3 separate regions of the Homo sapiens genome follow, and regions 1 and 3 are each linked to region 2. Evidence: promoter capture Hi-C in human tissues and cell types (Jung and others, 2019). All regions are on one chromosome and are shown on one strand. Each heading gives the region's core, a stretch centred on a gene start or on the middle of the fragment in contact. The rest is flanking DNA. Distances are from core to core; before and after follow the strand shown.

Evidence for each region. Contacts are between HindIII fragments. The study calls those that stand out against the background at their distance.
Region 1: a contact is called between a fragment that was not itself captured here and the fragment with the promoter of FRRS1 in region 2, in 2 of the 25 tissues and cell types used here (H1 embryonic stem cells and spleen).
Region 3: a fragment that was not itself captured here is called in contact with the fragment with the promoter of FRRS1 in region 2 in 2 of the 25 tissues and cell types used here (H1 embryonic stem cells and adrenal gland).

The regions. Positions count from the first base shown.
Region 1 is chr1:100,080,585-100,084,401 of GRCh38, reverse strand. SLC71A1 (solute carrier family 71 member 1) reads right to left here. Exons shown (of 12, transcript NM_033055.3): 11 at 3,743-3,817; 12 at 1,025-2,399. The coding sequence ends at 2,193. It overlaps SASS6 (SAS-6 centriolar assembly protein), which reads left to right. Exons shown (of 17, transcript NM_194292.3): 17 at 1-832. Among named protein-coding and RNA genes, the nearest start is that of SLC71A1, 44 kb to the right of the region's middle. The HindIII fragment of the contact is 4,296 bases long and covers 1-3,817 here.
Region 2 is chr1:99,765,300-99,768,772 of GRCh38, reverse strand. FRRS1 (ferric chelate reductase 1) reads left to right here and starts at 2,138. Exons shown (of 17, transcript NM_001361041.2): 1 at 2,138-2,166. The HindIII fragment of the contact is 12,687 bases long and covers 1-3,126 here.
Region 3 is chr1:100,162,114-100,165,607 of GRCh38, reverse strand. The region is part of intron 3 of LRRC39 (leucine rich repeat containing 39); the gene reads left to right. Among named protein-coding and RNA genes, the nearest start is that of LRRC39, 14 kb to the left of the region's middle. The HindIII fragment of the contact is 7,164 bases long and covers 1-3,494 here.

The sequences.
Region 1 (3,817 bases), core at 438-2,937, 320 kb before region 2:
CTTGGGGAAAAATTTTTTTAAAATTCACCTAGAATCATAGGGCCTCATTTTGTTTTCTTATTGACAAACAATACCTGGTAGCATTCTCTAAAGAGTCTTCTAGATCAATTTTTATAAAGTACTAATGCTCATGTGATAATTTAAAATTATTTTCAACTACTTTATTACACAGATGAAGAAACATTTCAAGATATTGATGTAATAACATTACTGAGTCCCATGGTAAGAAAGAATCTTTGCTAATTTTTTTTTTTTTTTTACGAAGCCAGTATCTTGAAACTATTGGCAATTGCAAGTGTCTTTAAACTAGGGATCTAATCTGAAAATTCAGTAACTAATATTAGGCAGTTGATACTCCCCCACCTCCCCCATTTAGATACACTACTGTATTAGTGAGAATACTTGGTACAGTAACTTGAAAGCACTTGCTATTCTGGAAAGAAGCCTCTTGGTGATTTTGGAAGGAGCTTTATTGTAAATACTATGGAAGGGGCTTTGTTGTAAATACTATGTAATATATATAAAATATTGTGACATGTTTTGGATGGGATGCATGACATACAGGTAGCTCTCTTTTTTAAAATATAGGTATCTCTTTGCATATATATACACAAGGAAAGTTGAATTTTCAGGAGAGATCATTCTGATATCTTGCAAATTTGTATTAAATGTATACAGACTTCCAAGTGTGCTAATTCTTTACCTCCTAAACTTTTAGTTGCAATTGTTTTGCAGTGTAAAATTGTACATGTGTTAATAATCAAAAAGTGTTGCATTTAATGTTATTTCTGTAAACTTTGAGCTTTGTTAATAAACTATTATGCAGCATCTACACTTTGAAAATCAAGTACTTCAAAACGCATACTGCATTTTTGTTTCTTTCCTCTTGTCTTCCTTGAAGAGCATTTTTTAGTGAGGGAAAAGAAATGGATGCAAAGAAAGAATGAATAATGCTTTGATTTGTTACTGTAAAAATATGGTAACAAAGCCAAAACAGACCCTGTAGGAACTCACAGATCAAGACTTTTTTAAAAAAAAAATCATTAAAATATTTAACTTTATTAACAGAATATTTACATTTCTTTTAAGACCTTATTTAACCATAGTGAGTGTTCCAAGTTTAAAAAGCATTAAGCAATAACCACACACAAGATGAAAACAGTGTAAACTATACAGTTCTTTATATACAATTTTTACAAAGTAACACTTTTTTAAATAATATAACTGGACACAAAAATATACACTTTAGAGAAATTCACATCGGTAATTGTATAAAGCTCTCCTCTAGGGTCCTGAAAATTTAGGACAAACATTAGCTCTGTAAATAAAGTGTTACTGTGACAGTCCTGAAAGGCCACTATATATATTTATCTACATAATAGATATCACACTGACATTTTCAAGGCTACCAGCTTTACTATATAATTTTTAGATTATGTATTCAAGTGTTGAGGTGCTTATGATTATGCAAACATTAAAAGAATAGTGGTATAAGAAGTAGCTGGGGAATAAATTTGAGCCAGCATTTAGATTACAGGCTCTAAATACCCCAACTTAAATGCTAAATGGCTGATACTTTCTCACTTCAAAAACAGTAGTGAATAATGTTTAAAAGTACTGCAAACAAGCTCAAAACATGATTCAGATTTAGTACAGTTTTCTTAAGAGTTTTTTTTTTTAAATGCAAACAATTCATTTACCATTTCTTTGTTTTAGTGCATCTGCATTAAGGCTTTGAATTATTTGACCCAAGATTTTACAATATTAAAATCTGACTCAAAATTTTACAATGTTAAAACAAATAGGTCCACAACCATACTACCTACTGTGTCTCACTGAGTCAGCATAGAGTTAAAGCTCAACACCTTAAGGAAATGGTAGCAGAGACATTTGCTAATATCTAAGAAGTTACATATATAGTTTTTAATTAAAGGATGTATAATAAAACAAATAGCTTAGTGGCAAGAAATTGGTGCTAATAAACAAAAGGTTTTTCAAAAGAAATTGTAACATCTTTGGAAAACTGTCTGGTTCTAAGTTCCCACTTCCTTTAGTTCCCACGGAGTTCATGCAGATACATTTCTTAAGACAATCTTAAAGTACACTGTGGATGGAAATGGAATGTACATCCAGAACTAGAGGTGAAAACTAAGACCTGGGTGCTGATAGAAAAATCTTCCTGATTTCAGTCGTCACACATTTGTGTCCTGGAGTAAAGGTTCTTTGGCCTCTCCTGGCGCTTGTGTATTATGAGGATGGCTGTGACTGCCACAGTGCTTTCTCCAACTGCTGGACCTTAAGCTTAAATTGGTATGTTCCGGAATAAACAAGGCAACAAGCAGAGCCAGCAGTACTGAACAGGCTCCAAATAGGAAGGGAGGGCCAGGGATGATGGAATTCTGAGGAAGAATAAAGTAATTAGGATTTTTACACAAATACTTTTACTCATAAGGAGAAACTACATACCTTTTAGTATTAACTTATGAATTACAAGCTAATTGCTCTTCTCTTTATTAAAGCCATAATTATAAAAGGCATTCCCTTTTTAGGAGAAAAGAGATACTATCACATTCTCTATAAAATTCTGGGAATAACAACTGGCAAAACAGCCTATGCGAAAATATTACATCATTACTTTCAGCACAAAATGTGAACACAGCTATTCTATGATTAATTTGTTAGTCCAAGGGGAAAACGTTTATAGAAAGATCTCAAAAATAAAATCAGGCTGCACGTGTTGGCTCAAGCCTGTAATCCCAGCACTTTGGGAGGCTGAGGCAGGCAGATCACTTGAGGTCAGGAGTTCGAGACCAGCCTGGCCAACATGGTGAAACCTCGTCTCTACTAAAAATACAAAAAAAATTAGCCGGTCATGGTGGCATATGCCTGTAATCCCAGCTACCCGGGAGGCTGATGTTAAAAGAATCGCTTGAACTTGGGAGATAGAGGTTGCAGAGAGCCAAGATTGTGCCACTGCATTCCAGCCTGTGTGACAGAGTAAGACTGTCTCAGAAACAACAAAAAACAAAATAAAATCAGGTAGCATACAGTATTTACTACAGTAGCAAAATAAATTACCATTTCTTTGTTTCAAGAAGGTAATTATAATTTCAAGTGACTGGAAGTGAGAAAAACACAGGTTACCAAGAAAAAGAGACCTTTGTTTTAGCCCAAAATTACATTCATTCTTAGCAGAAGCTTGCACTGCCAGTTTTGTGTATAGCCCACAAACATTCTTTTATTTAAAAGTAGTCTTAGTGGGTTGGAAGATAAGTACAGAACTCTGCTAAATAAGCCAGGAAACTGATGAGCTGCTAATATTGGCCAAAATGATCAGCATTGTTTGGCATTAATTTTCAGTTGAAAAGAGGGAAATATAGCAAACAGTGAACAAAGGTTATTTACCATAAGCCTGCCTTTTGTATGAAAAGTTAGTTAACATACACAACTGTGATATTAGAAAAGTTTCAAAAGAGACTAGTAGTAAAGAGAAATGGTTTGTTACATATGCCATTGACAAACTAGGTACTTAAAATTTTTCATTCTCAAGTGGAAAAAAAATATGCACAGCCAATTTTCACAAGGTGGTATGTAGAAGAACACAGTCCCTTAAACTCTGGTTTTTAAGCATTTTATCCAATCTCAAATAGAATCTCACATAAAAGCTTTCATGACCAAAAACCAGTAGCCTTTAATCTAGCCAAATGAACCATACAATTTGATCATGTTGAATGAGAATTACCTGTTCAAAGTGGTGCTGAGGGCTTGTGTTTGTTCCCAAGTCTGTTCCTGTTATTGGCAGTTCTTTAAGTTCCAC
Region 2 (3,473 bases), core at 889-3,388:
TCTTCCCACTGTGTCGTACCACTTCCTAAGAGTGCTTTAGAATGTAGGGTTCTGATAATATAGTCGAAGAGTTTTTGTTTTATAGACATATCATACTTTTGGCATGCAATGGGGACAGTTCCTGGAAAGGGTCTGTTATCTGCAGAAGGCTATTTCACCACTTGAGGCTTTGAAGAACTGAAGATCAGCTGACTTAGTTTAAAACTATTCATGTTCCCAGCAGCTTTAGGATAGCAAACCAACTCTGGGTCATCTTTATTTAAAGCCTCTCTTTAATAACCTGTAGAGAGGGGCTTTTGTTAATTGTGACTAGTTCTTTAAGAGAAAGCGTAACGTGATGGTGTTCCTTTCTCTGTTCTCTCTTTAAAAATGGTTTAAAGAATTTACTGGGGTTGATTGATAACCAGCATTCACAGGTCAAGGCATGGGTCATAATCTATTTTCCAGTCTGCATATGTTGAAAGCGCCTTTGCAAAAAGGCTTTTTGCAAAGCCTTTTATAACTGAGGAAATTATGGCAGTGAATGAGAACAGACCTAACTGGCTCTGTCTTGCTTCTAATCTTTAAGCTGTCCTTGTTCATTCCTGGGCATATGCCAAACTAACTTTGGGAAGGAATCCAGTTCATGTTTTGACTCTGAAACAAAATTGGTAGTAGCCCTTTCCTGAATAGACCCCCTTCTTGCCTGGGGACCAGTCTGCCTTTGCAGGACCAACAAATTAGCTACAAGATTAGAAATTATGGTTTAGGGGTCATGCAGCCTCTGGCTCCAAGAGTCTGAACCTCCCCAAATTGCTCCTGGGGATAACATCACTATTGTAAAACCTAAGATCAGTGCTTGAGATATTTTGCAGAGCCTGGACTCGGTGGATCAGCTGATGCCACACAGACCGGTAATTGGGCTCACCCAGTTCTGCCATCCCACCCAGGAACAGAAGACAGCAAGAAAACCTCACGTCGACCCCCCATGATTCCATCTCCAATCTGACCAATTAGCACTCCCACTTCCCAAGCCCCTACCCGCCAAATTATCTTTAAAAATTCTGATCTCCGAATCCTGGGGAGACTGTGTTGAGTAATAATAGAACTCCGGGCTGGGCGCGGTGGCTTATGCCTGTAATCTCAGCACTTTGGGAGGCTGAGGCAGGTGGAATCACTTGAGGTCAGGAGTTCCAAACTAGCCTGGCCAACATGGTGAAACCCTGTCTCTGCTAAAATACAAAAATTAGCCGGGCGTGGTGGCGGGCGCCTGTAGTCCCAGCTACTGGGGAGGCTGAGGCAGGAGAATCGCTTGAACCTAGGACGGGGAGGCTGCAGTGAGCCGAGATCATGCCACCGCACTCCAGCCTGGGCCACAGACAGAGACTCCGTCTCAAAACAAAACAAAACAAAACAAACAAACAAACAAAACAAAAAACTCCGGTCTCCTGCACAGCCAGCTCTGCGTGAATTACTCTTTCTCCATTGCGATTCCCCTGTCTTGATAAATCGGCTCTGTCTAGACAGCGGGCAAGGTGAACCCACTGGGCAATTACAATGTCACTCAAGGTCTGAAATGGAATGTTTAATATTTTCAATTACATTAAAGAGAAGAAAAAAAGTAAAAAACAGGAAAACAAAAAACAAAATAAAAACAAAGATTGTTAAAAATTCAATTACATTGTCTTTTCCTAGCCCTAAAATTTTTCTTTTGCAAAAGAGTCTTGTGAAACAGATTAAAGGCTTAAAAAGAAACAAAACTCCTAAATTTCAGGGGTAATTTGCAAAATAAAAGATTTCTTTTGCATTATATCATTCACACTGCAGAAAGGTTTCGGTTCTATGCAATCTGATCTTTTTCCACTTTTTAAAAGTTAATTTGCTTTTACTTAGCACTATTATAGAACAGGTATTTTCAAATAGTTTTGCAATTAAACACAAAAACTATAATTTTTGTGGCGAAGTAGGTACTAGTTGGCAAACACTGTTCCTTAGTGTAAAACAGAATTCTAAGTTTTCAGAAATGGAGTCCTAAAACTAGCACTGGTCTTGCAAATCAAGTTCTGCAGCTTAGTTTGGGAAAGGTTCCCTTTTGGCTCAAGGCTTAACTGGCTCCACCCAGCTGCTGAAATGTGATACAAGTTGTAACAAAACCGGAAGTTGGTTAGGCTGCCTTCGCTTCTCAAGGTAAGTGTCACGTCTTTTTCCTTAATGTCAAAGCTCTTTGTAAAGCGTTAAAAATCAAATCCAGCTTAGCGACAGACTGGAGAGCGAGTGCCTGTGCTGACCAGGGCAGTCGGCCAGGCAGAACGGGTGCTGTATTCCGAAACTATGTTCTGGAGCTTGAATTGAGCTAATGAGTGTTCACTAACGAGTTAGGTTAATATGTCCTGTGACTTTGACTAACAAGCTTTAATTCCAAGATATGGGTGGTTATAAGTAGAGACGTGTTTGGGATCCTGAAAATCATTGACTTTATTCTTGCAGGAGTTTTTTTTTTGTTTTTAATTTTAAATTTAAAACTGTAGGAACTCTTTTTTTATATTTAAAGCTAGTGGCATGGTTACCTATATCAGGGTCACTTAGAACCTTATTTGGTTTTTAAAGTGGCTTTTTATCTAGAACTTTTAGTCCCCTTACCCTCCCACTCCCTAGCCCTGGTGTGTCGTTAAAATTTCAGAAAGACTCCAGGGTGGCAAGGTGTTATCACTGCACTTATTTTTGTGTGTGCTTGTCATACTGCCCTAAAGGGTAAAGGGGATTTTTCAAATTGTAAATGTGTTATTAGGAATATTTCTTAACATAGCTAAACTTTTCAGTTCAGATATTTTCATTTGCTTCTGTATTTTTATTTTTTATTTTTATTTATTTATTTATTCATTTATTTTTGAGACGGAGTCTCGCTCTGTCCGCCAGGCTGGAGTGCAGTGGCGCGATCTCGGCTCACTGCAAGCTCCGCCTCCCGGGTTCAAGCGATTCTTCTGCTTCAGCCTCCTGAGTATACTGCTGGGATTACAGGCGCCCGCCACCACGCCCGGCTAATTTTTTGTATTTTTAGTAGAGACGGGGTTTCACTGTGTTGGCAAGGATGGTCTCTATCTCCTGACCTCGTGATATGCCCGCCTCCGCCTCCCAAAGTGCTGGGATTACAGGCTTGAGCCACCGCGTCTGGCCTATTTATTTATTATTTTCGAGACGGAGTGTTGCTCTTGTGGCCCAGGCTGGAGTGCAACGGCGGGATTTCGGCTCACTGCAACCTCTGCCTCCCGGGTTCAAGCAATTCTCCTGCCTCAGCCTCCTGAGTAGCTGGGATTACAGGCAGGCACCACCACACCCGGCTAATTTTGTATTTTTAGTAGAAACGGGGTTTCTCCATGTTGGTCAGTCTGGTTTCGAACTCCCAGCGTCAGGTCATCTGCCTGCCTCGGCCTCCCAAAGTGCTGGGATTACAGGCGTGAGCCACCGCGCCCAGCCACTTCTGTATTTTTAAAAAA
Region 3 (3,494 bases), core at 989-3,488, 400 kb before region 2:
ATGATTTGTGTTGCTAAATATCTGTAAAAACAAAAGATCTTGACAGGGAGGAATAATTTTTCCCACTTAGTTTTTAGTAAGTGTGCAGACATAGCAAGATTCCTGTTCAAAGTGGATTCTGCAAGGACAGAGAGGGAAGCCCAAGGTCAATCCTGGTCAAGCAGAGGATGTGGAGCCTGGCTAAAGTTTTGATAAAAGGGATCTTTGTCATTAATTAAGAATCACTTAATTTCAGAAATTTCAGAAGTTCTCTATATAGGAATAATGAGTGTGCAGTCTTGCCCTTTCTTACTGCTTGTTCTTTTTTGGCATCATCTATTTTATGATTAGGGAGGAGGATTCTCTGTTAGCAAAATGTAATTTCCAAAAGTTAAGTTAGACCAAAATCAGCTTCTACTTTTAGAAACATTACATGGAATTTGTGTAATGTAGTTTTTCAAAGCACCTTTCCCTTAATCTTAAAACAATTACATTGTAAAATCATTGTACAGTATTATAAAGCTTGGATTGTGGTTAAAATTAAGTATAAACTACTTTAAAAGTAAATTATATAGAGATCAAAGGTTAGGTTTAAAACCTGTAATATGACTAAATAAATAATTTTCCAGGTATGCTGGCTTGTGCCTGTAATCCCAGCACTTTGGCAGGCTGAGGTAGGAGGATTTCTTGAGCCCAACGAGCTTGAGACCAGACTGGGCAACATAGCGAGACCCCATCTCTAAAACAAAAAGTTAGCTGGGCGTGGTGGCATGCACCTGTAGTCCCCGTTACTTGGGAGGCAGAGGGGTGAGGCGGGAGGATCAATTGTGCCCTGGAGGTCAAGGCTGCAGTAAGTTACAATCACACCCACTGCACACCAGCCTGGGTGTCAGAGCAAGACACTGTCTCATTTAAAAAAAAAAGAAAAAAATTAATAAATAAACAATCATAACTGACGCAAAATGGTAAGAATCTGAGAGACCTTTTAAAGTGAGACAGAGAAGCTGATTACCAGAGAAAAGGCTAACTGGAAAATTCATAGAAATTTAAAACCAACCAAAGGTAACCCAAAGAAATGTCCTTACTTTTTTACTCTGCTCTGAAATAGACCAGTGTTTCTCAAACTTGTCTGCGTAGGAATCCCATAGGGATCTTATTTAAAATAGCTTCTGGGTTAGTAAGTCTGGAGTAGGACCAAGAGTCTGGATCTCTAACAAGCTCCCAGGAGACAATGATGCTGCTGTTCTGCAAATCACACTGAGTGGCAAGGAAGTAGACAAAAGAAGCAGATTTGAAAGGGGTCAGTACACAGGCAAGGGGTAAGAAGGGTAAGAATGTAATCTAATGCTGCTTCGTTCAGCTAAATTGGCTAGAGCTTTAGCTAAAAAATGAAAGAAAAAAAGCCTACAGTTTAAACAGAAATTGTGTTTTCTCCCTTTTGATGCCAAGCTCCTTGAAAAAATCAAGTACTTAGGTAACGATTGGTGTGGCAATATCAGAAAAAGGCCTTATTCTACAATAAAATTTGTAGAATCAAATTTTATTTTGTTTTTTTAGAGACAGAGTCTCACTCTGTCACCCAGGCTGGAGTGTATTGGCGCAATCTTGGCTCACTGCAACCTCTGCCTCCTGGGTTCAAGTGATTCTCCTGCCTCAGCCTCCTGAGTAGCTGGGATTACAGGCCCACAACACCATACCCAGCTAATTTTTGTATTTTTAGTGGAGACAGGGTTTTATCATGTTGGCCAGGCTGGTCTCAAACTCCTAACCTCAAGTGATCCATCTGCTTTAGCCTCACAAATTGTTAGGATTACAAGCGTGAGCCACCACGCCCGGCCTCAAAAGGGTTTTAGAAGAGTTATAAAATTTCGATTAGAGACCTGAAAGAATATCAAGATTAAAATAAGCAGCTTCACACCTGTAATCCCAGTGCTTTGGGAGGCTGAGGCAGGAGGATTGCTTGAGCTTAGGAGTTCGAGACCAGACTGGGCAACATGGAGACAGCCTTTCTCAATTTTTTTTTTTTTTTTTTTAGAAAAAGCTGTATAGGAATTATAGAATATTTAAGCTGGAAAATACATAGATATCATTTAATTATAACCTCACATTTTATAGGTAAGGCCCACAGATGGGGGATGTCTTGCTCAAGGTAACCAAATTAATAAATCGTATATTCTGGACTTAGATCATAAAAACACAGAACCAGAAAGAATTTAGCGATCTTTACAGAGATGGAAATAGATTTTTCTAATAATAGCCTGACCGTGAACTCAGTAACAACAGAGCTTTTTGTATCTCCAATGTCTAGTACTTGGCTATAATGGTTACTGGATTAATTCCTTAAGTTAAAGGTCAAGGGATAAGATTCCTAATTTACTTGTTACTAAATCTTGCTCTGAATTTCATTTCTGTCTTAGTAATAATAACCATTAAGCCCATTGTTTGAATAGTTCTATTTTTATAATAAGTAATATAATTGAATAGCTGACATTATACATTTTTTCTTAGTTACCCACATCTATGGGAAGCTTAGCTGTTTAGATCAGAAGGCCACACATATCCCACTGCCACAGGGCACCTGTTAGCAGATTAAATTTTAGGCAAGTGATAGATCAAAATACACAGATACTAAGAGAGGTATTTTACAAACCCAAATACTTAAAGACAGCAAATTCAACACTTTGTTTACTTTTGGCTTTCTGTTCATTAAAATAAAATCCTTATTGAAGATCAGTTAATATACAAAACTGCTAAAATTATGTATTAACTCTCAGAATGTCAAGAGATTTCTGGCAAACAAATATTCAAATTAGTTAAACTTCATGCTTTCAGGACTGCTCATATTTATTATGTATCCTTTTAACAGCCTAAAATTTTCAAAATTTTCAATTCTAAACTTACTCTCTTTTTCATGAGTGAAGAATTTTCTGGGATAGAAATAGCTTTTTGCAAAAGGTTTTCCAGTTTCTTTTCTTTCTTTTTTTTTTTCTGGAGACCGAGTCTTGCTCTGTCGCCCAGGCTGGAGTAAAGTGGTGCAATCTTGGCTCACTGCAACTTTGCATCCCAGGTTCAAGCAATTCTCCTGCCTTATCCTTCCTAGTACCTGGGACTCCAGGCACGCATCACCACACCCAGCTAATTTTTGTATGTTTAGTAGAGATGGGGTTTCACCATGTTGGCCAGGATGGTCTCGAACTCCACCTGCCTCAGCATTCCAAAAGTGCTGGGATTACAGGTGTGAGCCACCGTGCCTGGCCGGTTTTCCAGTTTCTAGTTTGCATTTTTCTAGTTTGAGATCATTCTTATGTTTGCAATAGATCAAAAATCAACAGGAATGTGCTTCAAATGACAAAGATTTTATACATTTTTATATGTAAAAAGTAAAGACTAGATAAAATTAACATGTAGTAAGATGAAATTGAATTCTGAAGTTGAACTGTATTCTTTGCAAGCCATTACAAAGTCTATTAAATATCTATAGATTACTCACCAGGAAAACGCAAATCAAACCCACA